2 separate regions of the Homo sapiens genome follow, and region 2 is linked to region 1. The links are contacts of gene promoters, found by promoter capture Hi-C in blood cells and fetal thymus (Javierre and others, 2016). All regions are on one chromosome and are shown on one strand. Each heading gives the region's core, a stretch centred on a gene start or on the middle of the fragment in contact. The rest is flanking DNA. Distances are from core to core; before and after follow the strand shown.

What was found. Contacts are between HindIII fragments. The CHiCAGO score rates a contact against its expected background, and 5 or more counts as called.
Region 2: a contact is called between a fragment that was not itself captured here and the fragment with the promoter of LGR4 in region 1, in 1 of 17 cell types (naive B cells). The highest score is 5.3, in naive B cells.

Annotation. Positions count from the first base shown.
Region 1 is chr11:27,468,724-27,475,208 of GRCh38, reverse strand. LGR4 (leucine rich repeat containing G protein-coupled receptor 4) reads left to right here and starts at 2,419. Exons shown (of 18, transcript NM_018490.5): 1 at 2,419-3,091. The coding sequence starts at 2,907. It overlaps LGR4-AS1 (LGR4 antisense RNA 1), which reads right to left and starts at 3,478. Exons shown (of 4, transcript NR_131170.1): 1 at 3,377-3,478; 2 at 2,252-2,431; 3 at 2,013-2,041. RefSeq lists silencers at 2,646-2,695, 2,826-2,995, 3,246-3,305. The HindIII fragment of the contact is 11,499 bases long and covers 1-6,485 here.
Region 2 is chr11:26,299,058-26,305,542 of GRCh38, reverse strand. It overlaps a transcript of ANO3 not described here. Among named protein-coding and RNA genes, the nearest start is that of ANO3-AS1, 14 kb to the right of the region's middle. The HindIII fragment of the contact is 5,370 bases long and covers 1,330-6,485 here.

The sequences.
Region 1 (6,485 bases), core at 1,170-3,669:
TTTAGTAAAATCTGCATCTCCCCTTTTTTCAAAATATAAATCTCTCCTTTCACCTAAGTTTTCAGCCATAAGATTTTATTATTTGAAGACAAAGAATAAAGTTCTCCAAGTGTGGTTCATGAATCACCTGTGTCACTTTCACTTGCTGTGCAACAAAATGCTGGTTTCTGGGCCCCACTTAGGCCTACTAAATCATTCTGCATTTTTAATCAAGATTTGCATATAAGCCGGACTCCGTGGCTCATGACTGTAATCCCAGCACTTTGGGAGGCCAAGGCAGGTGGATCACTTGAGGTGAGGAGTTTGAGGCCAGCCTGGCCAACATGAGAAACCCCATCTCTACTAAAAAAAAAAAAAAAAAAAAAAAAAAAAAAGTAGCTAAACATGGTGGTGGGCACCTGTAATACCAGCTACTGGGGAGGCTGAGGCAGGAGAATCACTTGAACCCGGGAGGTGGAGGTTGCAGTGAGCCAAGATCACGCCACTGGACACAGTGAGTGAGAGTCCGTTTCAAAAAAAAAAAAAAAAAAGAAGAGATCTTAAAGAAACGATTACAGAAACTAACTTTACAATTTCTTCCTTATTTGTTCATGACAGTTGCTAGAAAATAATGGAAATGATTTAGACGATGAAAGCCTATTTAGGGAAGGCTCTAAGAGTACCAGATTAGGAGCCAGGAGCCCAGGAGCTGTTCCGTGATGATGTTGGGCAGAACACACTCTCTCTCGAGCCTCAGATTTCTTATCTATAAAACCAGAGTTTTCTGGGGGTCTTTAAGTTGTCTTTCAGCCCTGCAGTGAGAGGAGATATGTCATTCCTAAAACTTGAAATGAAGGCATATGTTTATTTATTAACTCTCTAGCTTCTAGACAGATTTACTGTATGTGACTTATGTGCCCAACCTGACATTATCTTTTAGATAAACTCCCAAATACAAAGATGATAAAATTTTTTCATTTTAAACTTATAGGTCTGCATCAACCTGTTTCCATTGTCCTAAGTTTTATTTACATACGATGGCTAGTCAACTTTATATGATAATTATCTTTAAATCCTGCTTTTTTTTTTTTTTTTTTTTTTTTTTTTTGAGACAGAGTTTTGCTCTTGTTGCCCAGGCTGGAATGCAATGGCGCGATCTCCAGCTCACCGCAACCTCCGCCTCCCGGGCTCAAGCAATTCGCCTGCCTCAGCCTCCCGAGTAGCTGGGATTACAGGCATCTGCCACCACACCCGGCTAATTTTGTATTTTTAGTAGAGACGGGGTTTCTTCATGTTGGTCAGGGTGGTCTAGAACTCCCAACCTCAGGTGATCCGCCCGCCGCAGCCTCCCAAAGTGTTGGGATTACAGGCGTGAGCCACCGCGCCCGGCCGAATCCTGCTTGTTTTAATGTATTCATTAAAAATGTCTCCATTATAGAGTAAAACGACTCAACGCCATGGCAGAGAGCAAGAAACGAAGTACCCTTAAAGCCGTAGTTGGTACAGGTAATGATTCCGTGGGGTCTATTAGGCCACAGGGACTCAAAATCCAGAAGAGGAGGGAATGCTGATAATTACCTAACACCAACGTTGCTGCTGGCTTCTCAGCCGTAGTCACCTCCCACTCAGATGTTTTGGAAATTGTCCAGTGTTCAGAAACATCACTTTCTCTGACCTTTTACAAAATTCCTGTGTTTCAGGATTTTAAAGTGCGTGAGAAAGGAGTCTAATTTGCAGTCACCAAAAACACCAAATACAGAGAGAGGACTGGGGAGAATGAATTGCTAAGACTTAGCTACCAAATGTGTATCAAGATAGGTGTAAAGATCCCAGGTGAAGTGAGGCACTGGAGAGGGTACACTTTTAACTTAGTGTATAGCTAAAACCCAAAGATGTGTGTCAGATCGAGGGAAACTTTTTTCCTCCTCTTCAAAATCTTTTTTCCGTTTGCAGAGCTCCAGACGTCCTCGCCCTTTGGAACAGCGGAGAGTCATTTAAAACTTAACTGAACGCTGGAGGGAAGTTCTACTTACCAGGTCATCCAATTTAGGAGATCCAATTTCTGCGGAGGGAACAAAAAGACGGGTGGGGGAGGGAAAAACTAGACCCCTTGTCCTACTATCCTTCTACCTTCAATCCACAACCTGCCAGACAAATCCAGCCAAGTCAAGATTTTGCCTTGAACCACCACCACCACCACCACCACCACCGCCGCCACCACCACCACCACCACCGCCGCCACCACCACAACCACCACCACCTTGTCACTCACGCCCGAGAAACACGCCCCTCTGGTCCTCCTCTTGGCCAATGGCGGCTCTCCTCTCTGCATAGTAATGAGCTCGAGACCTCCCCGGGCCAATGGCGCTCCGGGAGAAGGGATACTTTTGCATGTACCTAAGTGATTTGCATAAGCCAGCGGCCGGGGGTTTGGGAACCAGAGCGTGCAACCCTAGAAGGGAAAAGGACGGGAAGAGATTGAGCCGCGGCTGGGAGACAGCGAGCCAGAGTCTGGGTGTTTGTGCGAGAGCCACGGCGGGGGCTGGGGCGAGTGGCCGGCATGGCTGAAGGCTGCGCTCTGCAACCTTGAAGAGCCGCTGCATTGAGAGGCCAGGGACAGGGAGACCGGTGCGATGGCAGAGCGCGGCCCCCGCCGCTGCGCCGGGCCGGCCCGGCTGGCGTGAGCCGCCGGAGGAGCGGGGCTGCCTCTGCGCGTCCATGGAGCAGCGGGAAGGGCGAAACTCCGGAGCGCCGCGTCCCTGCGCCGCTGCGGCGGACTGCTGAAGGGGCCGAGCCCGCGCGGACCGCCGAGGAAGAGACCCCCGCTCCAGCCCGCAGGCCGGCTGCCCGGGGGCGGCGGGGGACATCGGAGGGCAGCGGAGCGAGCAGCGCCGCGGGAGAGGCCGGCGCGGGAGGCGGCCGCAGCAATGCCGGGCCCGCTAGGGCTGCTCTGCTTCCTCGCCCTGGGGCTGCTCGGCTCGGCCGGGCCCAGCGGCGCGGCGCCGCCTCTCTGCGCGGCGCCCTGCAGCTGCGACGGCGACCGTCGGGTGGACTGCTCCGGGAAGGGGCTGACGGCCGTGCCCGAGGGGCTCAGCGCCTTCACCCAAGCGCTGTGAGTGCGGGCGGCGGGGACGCGAGGGGGGGGGAGGAAACGGGGCCCAGCGGGGGGCGCCGCGGGGCGGAGCCAGGGGTCAGTCCCACCCCACCCCGCCCCGCCGCCGCCCGGGCCTGGGGAGGGGGTCCGCCGGTCACCTGCGTGCGGGCTGCCTGGCACCCACTCCTGTGCCACGGGCTTTCCGCACTTTGCTAGTCCGGGTTCGAGCCAGCAGTAGCTTTCGTTCCCAGACTTTTTGGGCACAAGCACCCTCCCACCCCACCGCGCACACCCCCAACTCACAAGTGCATCTGGGGCCAAGAAGGAGGAAGTAATCTAAAAACGCTTGCCCCTGGCAGCCTGTCCACGCGACCTTCCCTTCTCATGAGGGCCCTCGCTCAGCGGGCAGGAGTTCCGCTACTGGCGGGGCTGAGGGCGCCGAGAACTTGGCCTCAGTCTGCATACCGAGGCATGTCTCGTGGGGAAGCACCTGGAGCCTCCTGGGTTCCAGCATGTGGGGAGAAGAAACACCTGTACCTCAGTCAGGGCGAATCTCCTTCCAATTTGGCCCCATCCAGGTAGTGCGTCCCGGCACCTACCTCGGCCCAGTTCCACTCGGGACTACCCCACTAACGCCCAGGCTTCTGCAGCACGCAGGGGAGTCCGAGAAAACAAGGGAGAATTACAGGGTTCTGTTGGTGGACATGCTCTTACCCAACAAGGCCTTTTAAAGAAGGAATGCTGACCTGAGGTGCAGGATGTTGGAAGAGAAGCAAGTTCCGGAGCATATGCTCAGCCCAGGCTGCAAGGTAGCAGCAGGTTTCTAATGCACCTTCACGCAGCCAGCAGATCTTTTCTTTTGAGCTGCCTGAGATCGAGAGACACACTGAAATGTTTCAGACTTACAAAATCGCCCTGCCAAAACGGACTTGAGAGCTTTAGACGTTCCCTTGAGAAAAGAAGAGGAATCTGAACTAGGTTGTGGAGGTGGTGGCAAAGGCCACGGATAGAGGAGGAACAGGGTAGGGTTTTTGTGTTCTTATTGCTTCTTGCGTTGCGTGGCCAGCTGAATGCTTAAATCAGGAGCAGTCGAAGAAACGTGTGAGAGAGGAAGGGATCCTGAGGGGCCCTAGGGTAGAGGGAATTTCCTTTTACCTGTAGTGGAAGGGACCTCTTAGAAATAGACAGTTTTAAAGGACCCTGTGAAGAAATCTTTATGCAGGCAGGAGCATTGCTGTATTTCCAGGTGGGTGGTGGCAAAGGTGTTCCGCTTGCCCTCTCAGGATGGACTTTTAGTGAGCATCGAGGCCTGTTGTCTTGGAACCTGTTTCATTCTTCTACCTTCAGCCTTCCCCTCCCCATTTGTTATTTTTCCTGTCTCAGGTTAGTTTTAGTTATGTATTTGAGGTTTTTTTTTTTTTTCAGTATAGTGAAGTTTAACTTGTCATTAAAAAAAAAAGTTAACTTTGCAGTGAAGAGCATTTTGTTCATAAAGTTACATTAAGTGGGAAAGTTTGAGCAGGAATTGATTGAATCAAGAGAAAGAAGACCTGTGGAGAGGAAATGGGACTAATTTTTCCCCAAGTTCTCTAGAAACGTTTAGGGAATTCGTGCAGAAAGAAATGCAGAAAGAAAGGTCCCTTTACCTGAACCTCTTGCAAGGCTCTGCATAGAATAGAAAAGCACAATTTTACTATTTTGACCAGTAGTAAAGACCTTGTTTAGCAGATTCCTCACATTTTAGTGAGTAGACTTGTCCTATAAGGAAACGGGCTGTTTTACATTAGTATCTAAAACCACAGAGAAATAATCACACTTTTATGAGAGCATACTCCTCTCTCCAAAGCATCTTCTGGTAGAACTCACTGAAGGTGGTGAAATGCTGTATCTTCAACTTTGGGCCTTAGAATAAGTTAGTGTTCATGGCTTAGGAAACAGAAAAATAATTGGTACCAGTCTCAATTAGAGTGCCTAAACTAGCATTATCTTAGCACTTTCTGAGCTTTGGTGGTGTGCAAATGTGTTTTATTTTCTTAGATTTGTGACCTGTAGGTAGAGTGATCGTACATTCTGGTGACTCCTTATTTCTCCTTAGTACTCATTTCACCCTCAAAAATATATATAACCACCCTCTCTAAAAGGGTTTTCAAGGACAGCATATTTGCATTTTACTCATGGGGAAACTAGCTCATTCAGTGATTCTCAAAAGCAATGTATGAAGCAAGGCCAGTGCTGCAGGTTTGCACACTCCAGTCGATCATATATGGGACATGTTGCGATCACCTAGGGTCTTTTTCCAAGTACTTCCAGTCTGCTCTCCCATCGCAGCTTTACTGAGATACAGTTACACATCAGGAGACTAGTTCCGTGGTCTCTAAGCGTTTGTTCACCTATTCTTAATTGCTGGAGCATGTGAACCAAAAACCTCTGTAGTTATACAGAAAATTACAATCATGAAAGTAGAAGTTAAAAAGATGAAACTATAATTACTAATCAGAGTTCTTCATTTTCTTCTCATTGCTCAATGGCTTGTCCTGGAGTAGTGCTTTCACCTTCCCTGGGGACAGGGGTGGGGGGTGCATTTCACTTTAAAGATCCTGGGACTGACAGGGCAGTGATTTTATTTTACTCAACTTGGGATCCCCAGAGCCCGGTACATAGGAGGCACTTAAAAATGCTGGAGTGAATAAATAAGGATGCAAGGCCACACCGAGGAGCAGAACCGTGGCATGGAATTCAGACACCATTCCCACAGGGGATTTTCAGATTCATTCTCAGCACTTAGCCTTTTGTCCAGATTTGAGAAGGTCCCAGAGAGAGAATACCTGCTTCTTCTCCTTGAGGCTGGTTGAAACTTGTTCAGTCTAACAGTGTCTATTTCCTGGTGAAAGCCGCTTTACCGGAGTCTGGGGACAGCGTCAGATGTGATCCTCAGTACTGTGAATGGGATTCCTGTATTCACACCATTTGCTGCACCTGTAGCAACTATTTATGTTTTTGAACAACAGTATTCAATCTTGTGTCACAATGCACTGGCCTGTCACAATTCACCCCGAGGAGTGTTCAAGGCAGTAATCTTACTAATATTAAAATTCCGAAGTTTAATCAGAAGGATTCAAGGTTATTACTGTATTTGTGCTAATAACTCAATCACCTACATTCCAAGATTGGGAGAAGAGATGAAGTCATGGGGAGGGGAATGTGTATGTGAGTCCTCTGGTTTGTGTGTTATTGCTACGGTGTTTGAGAAACGTAGACCTCGAGCACAAATTTGCATGTCCTAGGTTATGTTTGGCACATAGTTTTAAGATTAGCAAGGCTATTTCTGTGACTTCGTGAAGAAAGTGGTGGACCTGAGTCCTTGATCATAGCTTTACTATGCCACTGAGTAATTGAATGGCCTTGGGCAAGT
Region 2 (6,485 bases), core at 2,765-5,264, 1.2 Mb after region 1:
TTGCTATTCCTCTGAAAACCCTCTTTTATCAGGATTTATGAATAAGACAAACATTAGGTCTCTCTTCTGTCTCGGTGGAAAAACCCCATGCTAATCCGATTAAAGTTCCTTAAATAAGTTAACAGATCTGGGTGCCAATATCATCAAAGGAGCTACATGTCATCTTGAATGAGTTTTGGGAAGGAAGGCCAGCCAATGTCAGAAGTTGTTTGAATGAAAAGCTGAGACTTTTCAAAGTTGCCTTTAATCATACGCTGACTCAATAAATAAAGACATCTAAACCAGATTGAATCATGCATTATCAATGCTGAAAGACAACCTACAATAAAATGTCTTTATTAGAACCAAAGTTGTTTATGTGGAATATTACTTTTTTTTTTTTTTTGCCTTGTAGGGAGCTAATGAATCGGTTTGGAATAAAAGTAATTCATAAACATCTAATTGGATAACTGTGAAGAGTTCACTTTTTCTTAATTTCTATCTCTGTAAAATGAGAAGATCGAACTGGACCCTTTTCTTTTTTTTAAAAAAAAGCAGTTTTCAAGTCCTTTAATTGGGATAATAATATGTTTATTATCAAATCTTCTTCAACCTGACCTTTCACAAAGTCATAATGCAGATAATAACATGAGTGACCAGTCTTGGTTGGAGAGCAATTTGGTAGAAATTTAAAAACTTAAAATACATATTCACTCTAACTCAGTAATCTCACTTCTGGGAATCTCTCTTTTCGGTATACATGCACAAAGCCAGAAAGATGGATTAACTGATGTTTGTTGCCATACTATGTGTAACATTGAAAAATTGAACACAAATCCTAAGAAAACTTGTATAACATAATTTTACAATCTTATGGAGCTAGTAAAAAATGAGGTGGTTCTATATGTACTGATATGGTGAAATATTATTATATATCCTTAAGTGAAAAAATAAGTTATCAAATGGCTGTACTATGACTTATTTGCAATCTCCCCTATTGTATTTATTTATCTATATTAGATAAATGGGAAAGAATAAGAAGGGATACATACATTAAACTGTAACTGTGGTTACCTGTGTACAGTGTCTTTGGGAGGTAATTTTTAAAAAAAGTTAAATAAGTGTTTGCAATTTGAGAAAATGGCCTTTAAATAATAAATAACATGAATTTAGTGGGTAAAAAGGCAATTAGTACTCCTCACTAGGTCCTAGTTATATTACATATAAATCCTTAATGCTTTTAAAGCATTATGTAGAGGACAATCTACATTTGCCATTGCTATAGGTACTCAACATACTATTTAAAGAGTAATAAGTTGAAGTCACTGAAAAAAGCCTAAATAAAAAGCTTCCTCTATTTCAAATGAAAATTGTAAATATGAAAATATTAAATTATGTACATATGAAAAATATTAATCCTTAGTAGTAATCGAAGAAAATGAATCAAAACAAGAATATAATACCATTCAATCAACATATTATAAAAGCCAAAGTGAATATTATTTGATATTACTTAAGATTTGATCACAAGAAACTTAAAAAAATAATTTTGGCCGTGCACGATGGCTCACGCCTGTAATCCTAGCACTTTGGGAGGCTGAGGCAGGTGGATCACGAGGTCAAGAGATCGAGACCCGCCAAAGTGGTGAAACCCCTACTCTACTAAAAATACAAAAATTAGCCAGGTATGGTGGCAGGCACCTGTAGTCTCAGCTACTTGGGAGGCTGAGGCAGGAGAATCACTTGAACCTGGGAGGCAGAGTTTGCAGTGAGCCGAGATCATGCCACTGCACTCCAGCCTGGGTGACAGTGCTAGACTCCATCTAAAAATAAATAAAATAATAACAATAATAATTTCAACTTTTATTTTAGATTCAAGTGGTACATTTGTAGGTTTGTTACATGGGTATATTGCATGATGCTGAGGTTTGGGATATGGATGATCCCATCAGCTAGGTAGTGAGCATAGTACTCAATAGGCAGTTTTTCAGTCCATGCGTTCCTTCCTCCGTCTCCCTCTTAATAGTCCCCAGTGTCTATTGTTTCCATCTTTGTGTCCATATGTACTTGATACTTAGCTCCCATTCATAAATGAGAACACAAAGTACTTGGTTTTCTGTTCCTGCATTAGTTCGCTCAGGATAATGGCCTCCAGTTGCATCTTTGTTGCTGCGAAGGGCATAATTTCATTCATTTTATGGCTGTGTAGTATTGTATGGTGTATATATACCACATTTTTTTTTTAAATCAGTCCACCATTGAAAGACACCTAGGTTGATCTCATGTCATTTCCATTGTCAATAGCGCTGTGATGAACATACAACTGCATGCATCTTTTTGGCAGAACGATTTATTTTCCTTTGGCTATATGCCCAGTAATGGGATAGCTGGGTCAAATGGTGGTTCTGTTTTCAGTTCTTCGAGAAATCTCCAAACTGTTTTCCACAGTGGCTGAACTAATTGACATTTCCACCAACAGTGTATAAGTGTTCCCTTTTATCTGAAGCCTCACTAGCATTTGTTATTGTTTTACTTTTTAATTATAACCATTCTGATTGATGCAAGATGGCATTTCATTGTGGTTTTGATTTGCATTTCTCTGATGATTAGTGATGTTGAGGATTTTTTCATATGTTTGTTGGCTACTTTTAAAAAATGTCTATTCATTTCCTTTGCCCATTATTAATAGGGTTATTTGTTTTTTGCTTGTTGGTTTAAGTTACTAGGAAATTTTATATATTACTGGTGCTAATAGTTTTTGCGTGATAGCATCATAATTTCTAAACACATATATATGTCCATACAAAAGCTGAAAATATATTACAGAATATTAAAAGTGCTGATTTTCAAATAATAAGATATAAGGCATGTTATTTCTTTCTCTGTGTACTTTCAACACATCCCAGTATTTATGCATTTGTACTTTGTTATTTATATTTTTTCTATAATGGTAAATATATAAATAGTTTGAAAGTAATATTTGTTTAAGGCCGTTAGTTTATTCACTGAAATAATCGGAGGCATTCTTTTGACTTCTGTCATTTTTCCTTTTTATTATCATTATTATTTTGAGACAGAGTCTCACTCTGTTGCCAGGCTGAAGTGCAGTGGCGCCATCTCACCTCACTGCAACCACTGCCTCCCAGGTTCAAGCGATTCTCCTGCCTCAGCCTCCTGAGTAACTGGCATTACAGGCGTGCGTCACCATGCCCAGCTATTTTTTGTATTTTTAGTAAAGACGGGGTTTCACCGTGTTGGCCAGAATATTCTCAATCTCTTGACCTCGTGATCCACCTGCCTCGGCCTCCCAAAGTGCTGGGATTACAGTCGTGAGCCACCGCACCTGGCCATCATTTTTCTTAAATAAACTCTCATACACTAACCACTTTTTATGAATTAGCTATTCTCCTCACTTCTCCAAAGAACCAGATAAAATTCAGTTTATGTATAAGAAATTATATGAGACAGACAGCACATGATGACTGGAAGACTGGCTGAATCTTGGCAGTTACCTTCACAGTCTCTGCCTAGTACCTTGTAGCTTAGCAGGGCTGAATCACCAGTCTCTCCCCTACTTTTCGATTTGGGATATTAATAACTTTCTATCATTTTTACCATAAATGCTCTTCTAAAACATGCAGGCCTATCTATGTGATGGGGCTTAGAAATGAGTTGATAATGTAAAGGTCTATCTCACTCTCACTTTGAGCCTCCTTGTCTTTTGAGATGACATCAATGGGGGCAGGGATAAAACAGTCTGTTCTATAAGGTAATTGAAGGTTTTTGTAACAATAGGGATGGAAGAAATAAAACATTTTATCATAGAAGGCATTTAAGGGTTTTTGCAACTGTAGGTATGTAAGAATCTTTTACCTGAACTTAACATTCATTTTTCATTCTCTGTCTCTCTTCTTCCTTCCCTATCTCTCAATCCCTCCACTCCCCTACATAACATAATGTGTTTATAGAATGACAGAAGTGGAAGAAATACTAGATCTTCCATTCTACTTTTAGGAATTGTAATCCTTGGAGCACTTGAATTATGTGTAGCTGCATCAAAGAAACCTAAAACAGTACAAAGGTGTTCAGTGAGTGGCCAACTGGATGCACCAGCCCTTGTTTAAATAAAAGTACTTCAGTTTCATTTATGCTGCTATTTTAAAATTATTTTAACTGCATATCTAGTCTATTTTTTCTCATTTAATAAGCTAAGAAACTACAGACTCAGAAAGCTCAATTACCTAACCAAGGCTATAAATAGGCAATGTCAGAATTAGGACAACAATTCAGGTATTTGGTTTTTAAATTCCAAATTGAAATTAGAAATCCAATGACAGTGGTAACAATCTGTCATTCTGGGATTGCCATAGTTTATTAAATACATTATGAAGAGGCAATTAAGAAAGTAAAGAGGCTGGGCGTGGTGGCTCACACTTGTAATCCCAGCACTTTGGGAGGCCGAGGCAGGTGGATCTCGAGGTCAGGAGTTCAAGACCAACCTGGCCAACATGGTGAAACCCCATCTCTACTAAAAATACAAAAATTAGCTGGGAGTGGTGGTGGGCACCTGTAATCCCAACTACTTGGGAGGCTGAGGCAGGAGAATCGCTTGAGCCCAGGAGGCAGAGGTGGCAGTGAGTGGAAATTGCACCACTGCACTTCAGCCTGGGCAACAGAGTGAGACTCCACCTCAAAAAAAAAAAAAAAAGAAAAAAAAGAAAGAAATAAATAAAGTAAAGAAGTACCCAGGCAACAGTAGTGACATTATCCTAACAAGAATATGAGCGATATTATGCAAGGTTATGTTATTTTGCTTCAACTGAGTTACTGAATATATAAGATAATTTATGTTGAGCATCTGCTAAACATTAGCATATAATTTTTCTATACACCTGTTCCACAGACACATATCTATAAGGGAAACTTCTAGAAGTTTGTTCCTATGTGACTGCCAAAATCTGGGCCAATCCTTTTTATCTGGTCCTTAGTCTCCCCATCTATAATGAGGAGAATGAAACTGATCTCTAAAATAATTTTCAATTCTTACATACTTGGTTATTTAGTTGGTGTGTCTCGATTCTTCTCCAGCCTCACTAACTCTCCTTTTCAGCCTCCTTTGTCATTCCTCTTTTTCTTAACCTTTTAACTTTGCAAATGCTATAAAATGGGGGGCAAATGTCGAGAGAGAGAGAGAGGGAGAGCAAATGAGAGAGAGAGATGGAGCCAAAAGGAAAACAAAAATTGCATAGGAAAGATGTAAAACAACTTGCTTTTAAAAGTAAGGTGTGTATGTGTGTGTGTGTCTGTTTGGTGTCTCTGTGTATGCGTGTGTCTGTGTGTGTGTGTCTGTGTGTGTGTGCGTGCGTGCTTGCATGGGCATCGCACTTCCTCCATACTCATACCTATGCAATTAAACCATAAATGAAGGAAAAAACATGCCAGCATACAGACTGGTCTTCCTCAAATTCCTGATAATAACCCCACATGAGGGCTTAATGGTGCCCAGCAGTCAAAATATTTTTCCCAGGTCCAGCTATTCTCCCACTCTCCTAGAAGACTACTTCATACTTTATTCCCTCATTTCAAACCCTGTCTTCCAACACCTCCTCCCTATATCTCACTCTTAGCTGATAATTTTGCTTCCTATTTCACTGAGAAGACTGAAGCAATGTGAAGAAAACTTCCACAGCTCCCACCCACTTATTGGCAATTGTATACTCATATATTCTGCCTTCCTGACTGATAGTCTAGATAAACGAACTGTATTCCAACAAAGGCCATCTCTTCCACATATGGAGTAGTTTCTATCCCTCACTCCTACTTCAGGACAGCAGCCCAATAATTTCCCATACATGCTCTCTCCCTACAGAGTCAAGTCCAGTCCCTGCACCCCCTGCCATTCTAGTTGATAATTATCATCACCATACAAGCATGCCAGTCTCCGCCTCCCCACTCTAGTTGACATTTATCATCACTATACAAATAGGTCTTCTAATCCCTAAAAAGAATAGGAAAAAAAAAAGGCAATCTCTCTTGACTCTAGTTTTCCTGGTGGCTTCTTCTCAACTTATTTGTTGCCTTTTGCTCCACTAGTCCACAAAAGCAGATAAAGTTAGAACCAAAACTTACTATTTCTAATTCATTTTTCAAAAATCCTCTACAGTATTTATTTATTTTCCTCTTATCACTTCACTAAGACTGTCAAAGTTACCAATGACCTCTTCTTCACCAAAGTGAATTCTTAACCTTCAGCTTCTTTGATATATTAGGGGCATGCTATATAATTAATCACACTTTCCTCCTTGATAAACTTCCCCCACTTAGCTTTCAGAATACCACAGTGTCTTGATTCTTCTCCAGCCTCACTAACTCTCCTTTTCAGCCTCCTTTGTCATTCCTCTTTTTCTTAACCTTTTAACTTTGCAAAACCCCAGAAACCTCAAACCTTAGACTCTTCTCTTTATTTCTTATGCCTGGTAATTTCATCCTGTCTCATGGTTTTATAC